3 separate regions of the Homo sapiens genome follow, and all the other regions are linked to region 2. The links are contacts of gene promoters, found by promoter capture Hi-C in blood cells and fetal thymus (Javierre and others, 2016). All regions are on one chromosome and are shown on one strand. The core of a region is centred on a gene start or on the middle of the fragment in contact, and the rest is flanking DNA. Distances in the headings are between cores, read along the strand shown. Region 1 has its middle 170 kb from the start of LYPLAL1-AS1. Region 2 holds the start of LINC02869 (long intergenic non-protein coding RNA 2869). Region 3 has its middle 110 kb from the start of LYPLAL1-DT.

Evidence for each region. The method cuts DNA at HindIII sites, captures the fragments that hold promoters and counts their contacts. A CHiCAGO score of 5 or more calls a contact.
Region 1: a fragment that was not itself captured here is called in contact with the fragment with the promoter of LINC02869 in region 2 in 1 of 17 cell types (naive B cells); the score reaches 6.4 in naive B cells.
Region 3: a fragment that was not itself captured here is called in contact with the fragment with the promoter of LINC02869 in region 2 in 1 of 17 cell types (endothelial precursors); the score reaches 5.5 in endothelial precursors.

What each region holds. Positions count from the first base shown.
Region 1 is chr1:219,383,303-219,387,243 of GRCh38, forward strand. It overlaps a transcript of LYPLAL1 not described here. Among named protein-coding and RNA genes, the nearest start is that of LYPLAL1-AS1, 170 kb to the right of the region's middle. The HindIII fragment of the contact is 1,305 bases long and covers 956-2,260 here.
Region 2 is chr1:218,508,275-218,512,328 of GRCh38, forward strand. LINC02869 (long intergenic non-protein coding RNA 2869) reads left to right here and starts at 1,821. Exons shown (of 3, transcript NR_146760.1): 1 at 1,821-1,913. The HindIII fragment of the contact is 5,893 bases long and covers 134-4,054 here.
Region 3 is chr1:219,059,272-219,063,325 of GRCh38, forward strand. No RefSeq gene overlaps it. Among named protein-coding and RNA genes, the nearest start is that of LYPLAL1-DT, 110 kb to the right of the region's middle. The HindIII fragment of the contact is 3,902 bases long and covers 1-3,376 here.

The sequences.
Region 1 (3,941 bases), core at 358-2,857, 870 kb after region 2:
GATAGTTTGAGTTGATATTTCAAAGCTTTGAAAGTGAAATATAAGAAATTGTATTGGACTTGTGATAAATGAGAAATGTAGTGGCATATTTATGACACTTTAACTAATTGGGCTGGTCATTGTGCTTCCTGGCTCAGATGTATCACTGCACTACCACAGGTCAATATACTTCAGGTGGTGTTCTCAACTCAGAAATATGCACAGGCCACATCTCTGATGGAGCTCTTGGCAAATCACTTGAATTACATTCCCTAATATTCAACAGATGCCTATAACCCACATGGCAAACAGATACATTCAGTCAGTAGTTCACCATAACATTATATTGAAACAAATACAAGAACCCATGCATAATATTTAATAAAAACACAAAGAACTATAAATGGCATAACTCCAGAGTTCATTACTGCTCAAACTGTCTCAACTTTCATAGTAGCATATATTCCACTGACCAAATCAGTGTGTATTTATCGTGAGATTCTCTCTCTTTGGCAGAGAAAGCAAGTGGAATATTCAACGTGAGCTTGATTTAGAATAGATAGAGGCAGACAGACCTTGCAGCTTTGGACGTTACTGAAAAGAGAAGTGATTTATGATGTCATTTCTGTTTACATATAGTTCATTTTCTGTTAGGGCTATAGCATTTTCTTCAAGTAAAAAGGCTTCTTGGGATGGTATCTCACCACTCCCCTCCTCTTCCCAGCCAACCTTCCCCTCTCCTTCCCTACTGTTTTCCTCTCCTTCACAGCCCATATGTCTTATAAGACAAGTTTCACTTGAAAATGAACAAAACTCTGTGAAGAAGTGAGGTCAAAGTTAGAAATGCGAACATCCATTTTCATCTTTACCAGTGATTCCAAATTCTTGTGATTCATTTATGGGAAAAGGAAGAGCAGTAAAACAGATAGGGCAAAATAGAAAAATCTTCCTTAGACACCCATTATCCTAATGGCAAAGCTTCTAATGGGTAAAGGAAACTGTTGAGAGGTGATACTCTTGCCAGTTTTTAAAATTCTGTATTTGCACTGTAATTAACAAAGAATAACCACTTGCAGTTTCAATTATAGCAAATGCTCTTCTCCATCATGTCCCTCAAACTACATTTGAATGATACCTCTGTTGGCAATCAAGAAGCATTTGGGAGGCATTCCAGCAGTGGTTTTTAGGTGAAGATATTTGATCCCTCTGTTTATATATTCTTGTTTAGTGTAGAATCATCTCAGATCAAAGGTAATGTCAATTGATTGAATTAAAATGTATAGAATAAAATCCACAAATTAGGTCGGATGTCTGATTATGATCTTTGATCAAAAAAAGTACATGAAACACATTTTCTGAATATTTAAAGTGCTGTCAAGTATAGTATAATACCACATGTTGTAAGGAGTTTAATAAACACAAATCAGTCGAATTTATTTGTATTGTTTGATCTGTTTTATTGTCATAAAATATGTATGGAAATGACATATACAGAAGCAGCATTCCTAAATAACCTGGCATTGATAAAATAAGGAGAAATTCATCAAACAGAAATATATATAGCTCATCCAGAGACTACAGAGCATTCTGATATAATTACTGTGATTCTGTTTCATTGCCAACAAATGAGGAAAGAGACTGCGTAGTAATTCTCTACTCCCACATACTTTTGGTTGTACAACAGGTCCAAATAAGACTCTACGGATCTTGGATCGTCCAGACTATATGACTTGACTATTGGTGGGCTTTTTCTCCCAGTAATGTTCTGCAGGTGGTGGTGGGGGAGGTCAGTAAACCTATAAGTTGGCTGTAAATATGCCCTCCAGAGATCTGCTGGGGATTTTAAACATTTTAGATACAAGGCAGAATCAACTCATTTTGAAAAGAAAGCACTCTATGCCTGGAGAATACACCTTCCATTGGGCAAAGAAAAAAACTCTGCCAGAATCGAACTTCTATACCCAGGAATACCATGGCATGATTCCAATAGGTTCAGTTCTGAGATAGAGTGGAAGGCTAAACTCCAGGGCTGCTTCTTGCAGTTCCTCCAGCCCAATACCTTAGTCTGAATCCCAAAGCCACTCAAAAAATTGTTCAAAAGTTTGCAACAGATGGGTTCAAAATCTAATGCATTTAGAAATAGTTGGCCTATCCTTGAGGTATTTGAGCACAATATATGTGATAATATATGTCACTTTTAAAGCAGTGTTCCACTGTTATAGCACGAGTCCTCATTTTGGACTCTAAAAATAATTTTATATTATGTCTATATTTGTTAAGAAGCTTGTAGAAAAAAGTGTTTGGGGTAGACCAGTAGGGCAAGGGGAAGGGCAATAAAGAGGAAAGCTTCCCATATTCTGCATTAGTTTAATTTCTTTTTTCTCTTTGCAAGCTTTAAAAAGAAGGGGGAAAGGATGAAATTATTTGAAGGAACAAGAGGGTAAAGAAATAAAGATAAACAGAGTTAAGATGTAATTGCACGCTGTAATTTGCTAACAAAGAATTTTGTAGGTTGCCAACCTGTATAAATTACATACAGTTGGGAAAAGACTTCCAAGCAGAGAGAAATATAATTGCTTCATCTATTTTTTTTCTCAGTCAGTGTTTCTAACACTAACTCTATTGTATGACTGAACTGTACAAAATTACACTAGTTTCACAGATAGCCTTTGAAACACATTGTTGTAGGCCCTGAGACCTCCAAACTATCACCTGTGTGGTGAGAGCCCTCTAGTGGATGGGGGACTCCAAGCATGCAATGTCCGGAGCTTTGCCTGGAAAGGTGAAAAATTCAGTCATCTCACATTACCACTGGGCAACAGAGGGGAGACGGCAGAGCTTTCTGGGTGTATTTCTCTAGCTCAAATGTAAAATGGGAAGCCTACCTCCTCTGCCAGTTGCCATTTAACATTTCTATTCTTCCAGAGTGTTACACCCTTTCCTTGACATTCTGACAAATCTTTGGGTAGAACCAGTAAACAATGGCCTTTGGATTACTGTAGAGAAGAGAGGGTTCTGCATTAAGAGAAAGTGAACCATTATTCTAACACTATTCCGTCAGAAAACTAGCTGTATGACTGACTGATGGCTGATTTATCATAACCAATATATTTCCCTGAAATTTGAAGAGGAATTGGAGATTCCTCCTAAGTTGCCAGGAATTATTTAGAAATGTGTGGCCATATAGCCAGAGTTCTCCCAGTGGCTCTCTTCTCTTTCCTGGTTGTTGCTTTTTAGTCTCCTTTGTTAATTTCCCCCTATACTGGACCTTTAAACCTTGGATCAACTTGAGGCCTCTTCTCTTCTGACTTTGTACAATCTTAAGACATCTCAAGGATATATACTAATAAATGTTAAATTAAAAATTGTACCCAGATCTTCTTTCTTAGACTCTTCCTTTTAGATGTCTCATAAGAGCTTCAAGCTCAATAGAAACAGAAGTGAACTTAACCCAAATCTGCCCCCTTTCTTGTGTTTCTAATCAAAGCAAATGACAACCTACAAACACGACCATCTTTTTGAATTTTCCTCCTTCTTGGGACGCATAATCATCAAGTCAATAAATTCCACCTCTGATATTGCTTTCAAATTTATTCCCTCTATCTATTTTAACCATCATCACTAGCCTAACCCAAGCCATACAAACCAGTGCTATCACTTTCTAACAAATATTCCTGTATCTATCCCCTAATCCACTATTTTAACAATGCAGACCTGATCATACCATTTCTCTGCTTTAAATCTTTGATGACTGTTATGATAAATTTCCATATTCTTTTTATGGTCTCAAAATCCTGCATAATCTGGACACTGCTTATCTCTCCAGTCTCTCTTCCCCTTCTCCCCCACATGCTCCTCTGTCCAAATATAACATTTTACATTCTTTCCTGCCTTGGGGTCTTCATTCAGCTGCTCCTGCCTGGCATGCTCTCTGACTACACTTACCTACCTAATTATTAATG
Region 2 (4,054 bases), core at 571-3,070:
GTGGGTTCGTGGTCTCTCGCTGGCTTCAGGAGTGAAGCTGCAGACATTCGCGGCGAGTGTTACAGCTCATAAAGGCAGTGTGGACCCAAAGAGTGAGCAGCAGCAAGATTTATTGCAAGGAGCAAAAGAACAAAGCTTCCACAGTGTGGAAGTGGACCCAAGCAGGTTGCCACTGCTGGCTCGGGTAGCCTGCTTTTTTTCTTTTATCTGGCCCCACCCACATCCTACTAGGCTCATAGGCAGAAGGGACTTGCCTGGTCTCAATGAGACTGTGAACTTAAGACTTTTGGGTTAATGCTGAAATGAGTTAAGACTTTGGTGAACTGTTGGCATAATTGTGTCTGTTCTCATGTTGCAATAAAGAACTGCCTGTGACTGGGTAATTTATAAAGGAAAAAGGTTTAATTGACTCATAATTCCACAGGGGCTCAGGAAACTTACAATCATGGCAGAAGGGGAGGCAAATGTGTCCTTCTTCACATGGTGGCGAGAGAGAAGTGCCAAACAAAGGTGGAAAAACACTTGATAAAACCATCAGATCTTGTGAGAACTCACTTGCTATCATTAGAAGAGCATGAGAGAACCATCCCATAATCTAATCACCTCCCATGAGTTCCCTCCCCAACAGGTGGGGATTACAATTCAGATTACAATTCAAGATGGGATTTCAGTGGGGACACAGATCCAGACCATATCATTCTGCCCCTGGTCCCTCCCAAATCTCACCTTTCTCACATTTCAAAACACAATTATGCCAACAGTTCCCCAGCATAATAAAGTGCACAATAAATGTAATGTGCTTGAATCATGCTGAAACCATCACCTGCCGGCACTCCCCCTGCCCACCCCCTATGGTTTGTGGAAAAATTGTCTTCCACAAAACCAGTCCCTAGTGCCAAAAAGGTTGGGGGACTGCTGATCTATGGGACTATTGGGTTGGTTTCAGTGTGAGGTGCTGGTGACTGGCACCAGAGTGGGAGCAGTCAATACACCAGGGTATTATCATTGGTTGTCTCTGAGTGTTAAGATTATGGACTATTTTTCTGCTTCTTTGTGTATTTTTAGTCTTTGCACATGTTCTACAAAGAATAAATTACTTGTGTAATCATAGGAAATAAATACTACCTCTTACCCTCTCCCCTGCCCCAGTCTGGCATAATTGAAAAATGAACGCTTAGAGAAAGGAGGTCACCCAAGATCAGACTTCAGAATTCAAATTTAATAAGATCTACTTGTTATTCACGATAGAGTTTGTCAAACATTTTCACCAAATTTTAGCAACAAGTTTGAGTGCTGCAGGAGATAACGAGAAGTGAAAAGATGGTGAGGGAGACAAAACAAAACAAAATTGGCAAAGAAAAAGATGGCATTTTAAATAGCAACACGAACAGTCTGCCTAAGGACTAATCTACTGTGTGAGAAAATGATTTTTAATTGAAAAGTTCTTTTTGAGAAAGTTTTTTAAAAGTCTTATATAAAAATATGGAATATATAAGAATTTAACTAATACCTTGTGTTTAGGGTGCATTATAACTGTATAAGGAATTTTTACATGAAAATTTGGGAGAACAAGAGAGAACATCATGTAATAATGTGATTAAACTTGTTACTCAGCCATTTTACAAATTCTGGAATATAAAGGACAAGGTAGAGTATGTTCCAAGGCAGGCAGTGGCCACACACTGCTTGGCTTGTAGGCCCTATTAGGGATTTTGGTGTTTCTCCTAAAAACCAGTGGAAAACCACTGAAGTATTTTAAGCAAGAAGTAGCTTGATCAGGCTTGAGTTTCAAAAGGTTCACTTTTTTTTTTTTTTAAACAGGGGTCATATCAGAAAGATATGTTTGATGAAATTAACTACAGAATCAAGAAGTATATACTCAAAAATGCAAATACTACAATATATAAGACAATGTAAGTACATTTTCATTAAAAAATGAATTGTGTGAGTCCCAGAAGTTACAAGATTACACCGAGAAGAACGAGTGATCATAAAGTAAAAATATTCACGATTGAACTGACCACTTATGGAACTAACCCATGCTGTACTTTCTCCCACAACGTGGCCCTGGTTTCTGTTTCTATCGTCTCTGTTCCACCTCTGTCCATCTTATGTTATCTGTCTCTCATTGACTGTTGGTGGTTGACAATACCATGTGAACACAGAGTGAAATTACATCTCTTACAAAATATGAAGGATTTCATACAGACAATAAAGGTGATATTGGAGAACTGCTTCACCAATCATGGTCATTAACTGTGAGGATCTGTGAGACTTTAACCAGCACAGCATCACTGTGGCTGACTCAGCAATTTTTTTCCACTACCAATGATTAACCTAAGCAGATGATGGTAGTCCTGTTCCTTTTACCACTTATTTATTTCAGAATGAGTTAAGCAGGCATTAAAAGCGGACTATAACTGAGGGTCTCTTTTTAAGATTTTCAAGTTGGAAAATTCTGCTTTGATGCTAAGAGGCAGAATAAAACCCAGAAAGATTCATTCAATCTGACTTATTAATATTTGGAAGAGGTCAGTTTATTCTGCTCAGTTCAATTAAAATCAAATAACTTTAGTGGATAGGAATTATTCAAAAGTTTTTAATACTAGGATCTATTACTCTAGGCAAGCCATACCTAAGTAATCTATACAGTTAGGGGCAGGCTAATTTCAGGCAGCAGGAAACAGTCAGCTAAAATAGAGCAGAGACGGAGGAAAATACCACTTGGAGTGCCACTCACATGTTTAAGGGCAGACATGAAAAGGTAGGCAAGTGTTTCTCTTTCTTTTGGCAAGCATTTTATAGGAAAAATTCTACAAAGCTAGGAGACTACCTGGTAAAGCTAAGCCCATTTAGAAGGGGAGGGAAGGAAGAAAATAATGCAAAAAGTCAGAGTTCAGTATTGACAAGGGATCTTTTCATTGCATGTGATTGATGACTGACGGTTTGCCCCTGCTTTTTGATTCCTGTTTGCTGATTTCCCATTTTATTTACCCATAATCCACTCATTACTCTGATAAACCATGGAAGCAGTGGTCCACAAATCTGTGTTAGTTTCTCTGTTCTCTCTGCAGTCTTTTAGAGGTACCTGCTAACACAGCTTTAAAGATCCCCTGTAAGTCAAAATTAGCTATGCTTGGTGGCACATGCCCATAGTCCCAGCTACTTGGGAGGCTGAGGCAGGAGAATTGCTTGAACCCGAGAGGTGGAGGTTGCAGTAAGCAGAGATCACGCCTGGGTGACAGAGCAAGACTCCATCTCAAAAAAAAAAAAAAAAAAAGAAAAATCCCCTGTAAGTTAATGACTTCCACTTTCTATCTCTTGCCTTGAACGCCCATACTTCCTTCTCCCTACAGATAATCTACCTTGAAAGAATTTGCCACCATCTCACTAAACAGGTCAGTTTAATAAAATCATTGACTCCTAATAATCTTTGCCGCTGCGGTGTTCCTGGGCACTAGGCTGGTGCTTCTTAACTCTGGCTGCATGGTAGAAATGTGTGAGGAGTTTTTTTAAAAAAAGACTAATATCATCTCAGCTTGGAGAGACTAGAATTTGATTGGTCTGGGTCGGTTATTTGGTGATTTTTTTTTTTTTTTTTTTTTGACAGAGTCTCGCTCTGTCGCCCAGGCTGGAGTGCAGTGGTGCGATCTTGGCTCACTGCAAGCTCCACCTTCCCAGTTCACACCGTTCTCCTGCCTCAGCCTCCCAAGTGGCTGGGACTACAGGCGCCTGCCACCATGCCTGGCCAGTTTTTTTTTTTGTTTTGTTTTTTGTTTGTTTTTTTTTTTTTTTTGTATTTTTAGTAGAGACGGGTTTCACCGTGTTAGCCAGGATGGTCTCGATCTGATTTCGTGATCCGCCCGCCTCAGCCTCCCAGTGCTGGGGTTACTGGTGTGAGTCACCCCACCTGGTCTATTTGGTGATTTTATTGTGCAGCTAGGGTTAAGACAACCTAACTAAGCCCTGGGTTTTGGCTGCTCTTCTGCATGGTTTGTTCACTGTTCTCTGTGCATTTCTTCAGTCCTCTCTCCTTTGCCTGCACTCCACAACC
Region 3 (4,054 bases), core at 176-2,675, 550 kb after region 2:
AACAGGGTCTTGAAATAATATGTGCACTTTCACTTTCATGTTCATTTTGGCATTAGTCACAATAGCCTAGATGTAAAAACAACTAAAATCCTTTGATGGATGAATGGATAAAGAAAATGTGGCATAATCATGCAATGGGATACTTTTCAGCCTTTAAAAAGAAAAAAAAATTATCCTATGCCATAACATGGGTGAACTTTGAGGATGTTATGTTAAGTGAAATTAGCTAGTTATAGAAGGACAAATACCACATGATTCTACTTATATGAGGTATCAAAAGTAGTAAAAACTCATAGAAATGGAAAGTTTAATGTTAGCTGCCAGTGACTCAGGGTAGGGGGAAATGGAGATTTGCTATGCAATGAATCTAGAGTTTCAGTCACGCAAGATGAAAAAGCTCTAGAGATGTGTTGTACAACAATGAGTAGGTGTCATATTATGTGTTTTTTTTACCACAATAAAGAAAAAATATAAATCATATAAAGTATCACCTTTGGCCACAACAAAATTAAACTAAAATTAAATAATGTGAATTCATCCTGAAAATACTAAAATATATGGAAATAAGGCAACATCTTTTTTTTTTTGCAACATTTTTTTTTTTGAGACGAGTTTCACTCTTGTTGCCCAGGCTAGAGTGCAATGGTGCGATCTCGGCTCACTGCAACCTCCGCCTCCCGGGTTCAAGCGATTCCCCTGCCTCTGGTTCCTGAGTAGCTGGGATTACAGGTATGTGCCACCACACCCAGCTAATTTTGTATTTTTTAGTACAGATGGAGTTTCTCCCTGTTAGTCAGGCTGGTCTCAAACTCCTGACCTCAGGTGATCCACCCACCTCGGCCTCCCAAATTGCTGGGACTGCAGGTGTGAGCCACCACGCCCAGCCCAACATACTTCTTAATGACCTCTGGGTCAAAAAAGGACTCATAAGGGAAATTAGAAAATATTTTGAACTAAAGGTAAATAGAAACACAAGTTAGTCAAGTTCCAATCAGTAGATAGAAACCACAGCAATATGTTCAACACGAACATTTTAGGGTGAAGAACTATTAACTAGTAAAGGGTTAATAATATAGGTAACTAGTGGAATATAGGAGTAATAAATGCAGAAACCATCCATTATTTCTGGTGAGTAAGAATACAGATGAAAGGAGTTTAGAAGTTGGAAGATATTCCCCTCCCCTTGCTTGTCTAAGTTACAGACTTTATTAGAGAGAGTATGACTACTACAAGCAACTACAATCTACCTATGGCAAACAAACTTGCCAGAGGTTGCAGCTAGAGCTCATTCATAAGAGGAATCCACTGGGTATCTGGAAAATTCAGTAGAGGGTCGGGTAGGCTGGAGCTGTTCTATGGAAACTCCCTGCAGAGTGTCCATGAAGTGACAGGCTGGTCAAAGGTGGTCCAAAGAAACAATCCATTGCTGAAATAATGGAGGGCCACGGCCACTATGCAGAAACAGGCCCTCGTGGCGGGTGCCTGTAATCCCAGCTACTTGGAGGCTGTAATCCCATCTACTGGGAGGCTGAGATAGGATAATCGCTTGAACCCACGAGGTGGAGGTTGCAGTGAGCCGAGATCAAACCATTGAACTCCAGCCTGGGCAACAGAGCCAGACTCTGTCTCAAAAAAAAAACAAAGAGGTCCTCATGTAGCACTGTCTTCCTAGAGCTCTTCCACCAGAAGCAGCCCTCTGAACTGCTGGAGAAACTCACTGACTGAGTACTGTTGAGCCGCCTGCACATCACTGGTTACTATGGGAGAAAAAGAAAAATCACACCAGAAAGAAGCCTCTTCCTTTGCTTTGTCTTGCAGTGATCCCCCAGCAACCACTAAGGCTAACATTAAGCAGCTGTCTAAAGGGAAATTTTTACAGGGTTCGTTTTTAGTTTCCCAAATCAGGACAAAAATAGATGGATGTGAGATGAGAATCAATTAATAACTAGCATAATAACATATCAAAATTTATAGACTGAAGCAAGAAAGTAGGATTTAGAGTGAAATTTATAGCATAAAATGCTTGTATCAGGAAGATAAACAAGGTCTCAAATCTGTAATATGTCATCCTTAAGTTCTCAAAAAAAAATCTGTGATATATTTTTCCACCTTAGGAAAAAAAGGAGGAAATTTAACCAAAATATGCAATAAAATAGAAAAAAATAAAAATAAGTATGGGAATAATTGAAAATGGAAACAGAAAAACAAGGGAAAATCGGATAAAACCAAAAGACGCTACTTTGAGAGGGTCAATAAAACTGATAAACAACTAGTCAGTCTGAACATACCAAAAAAGATATCAGGAATGAAAGAGGGAACATTAATACTGATTCTACAGGAATTAAAAGGATAATAAGGGAATGTTAGTAATATAGTCCTATACTAGTAACTAATTAAATTTATGGATAAAAATCTTCCCACAAGGAAAATTTCAGGTCCAGTTGATTTCATTGGGGAATTTAAAGAAATATATTTAAGTAGAAAATTGATACTAGGAGTTCTCCTCAAACTTCCAGAAAATAGATGAGAAGGAAAACCTTCCCAACTCCTTTTATGAGGCAAGCAGTACCCTGATGTCAAAAATGTCAAAGATATTACAAAAAAATAATAAATTGCTGACCAGTATCCCATGTTAACACAGACACAACAATTGTTACTTTCAGAAAATTAAATTAAGGAAAATATTTAAAAAGATAACACATCTTTACCAACCGGCTTTATCTCAAGAATGCAAGGTTGATTTTACATTTGAAAATCAATCCATGTATCTCATTGTTTATTACAATAAAGGAGAAAAGCCCTGTTAAATCAAGTTTGACTTAAAGCTGCCTCCTTACATATTTTAAGTTCGGCCTAAAGACTTAACTGTACATCTTGAATTATAACAAGTGGAGGTGTAAACAGACCCTAGCCTACCGTTGTGCCAGTGACTGAGTTTTGGCCAATCAAATGTAGCCAACTCTTTGAACCATTTTCAAATAAGGTAAACTCTGAGTTATAACCAATCCAGCTGTTTCTGTACCTCACTTTCCTTTTTCTTTCCATAAAATCTTCTTCTGCCACATGGTTGCACTAGCGTCTCTGAGCCTACTCTGACTCAGGAGGCTGCCGATTCGTGAATCATTCATTGCTCAATTAAACTCTTTTAAATTTAATTTGGCTGAAGTTTTTCTTTTATCAACCATAATAGATGCAGGAAAAGTATCTGACAAATTTTATTACCCATTTATGTTAAAAACTCTCAGCAAACTAAAAGAAGAAGGAAATTTCCTCAATTTAAACAAATTTTATATATATTTTTTGGTTTTTGGTTTTTGGGGTGTGTGTGTGTGTGTGTTTATACAAGTAACACAATAGTTAATGGTGAAACACTGAAAGCTTCCCCTCAAAAATCAACACCTATTCATAATATAAAAATTCTCAGCAAACCAAAAATTGAAGGCAACTTAGATATTCTGAAAAAAAAAATCTAGAAAAAAACAACGACTAACATCATATTTGGGGGTGGAACACTGAGTGATCATGAGCAAGGCAAGAATAACTGTTCTCACCAGCTCTTTTTGACATTATCCTGATAGTTGCAGCCAGAGCAAAAGGCAAGGAAAAGAAAGGAAAGACATACAAATTGGAAAGGGAAAAATAAATCTCTTTATGAATAGATGCCATGGCTGTTTATGGTGAAAATTTTAAGTCTAACAAAAACCTACTAGAACTAATAAGTGAGCTAACACTTGTATCTTAAAAATTAAATTGGGGTATTAACAATAGCATAAAGTATGAATTATGGATAAACTTGACCAAATACATGCAATTCTTCTACACTTAAAACTATAAATAAATACTAAGGCAATTTAAAGAAGACTTAATAAAGCGTGGTATATGCCATATTTGTTGATTGGAAAACATGATATTGTTGAGATGTCTCTCCAAATTCTCTCCTCAAATTCATCTCCTCAAATTGGTCAATGAACTTATTCATTAAAATTGGCAATCACAAAATTCTAACAAGCTTATTTGTTGAAAGTGACAAGCTGATGTTAATTTTATGTGGAAA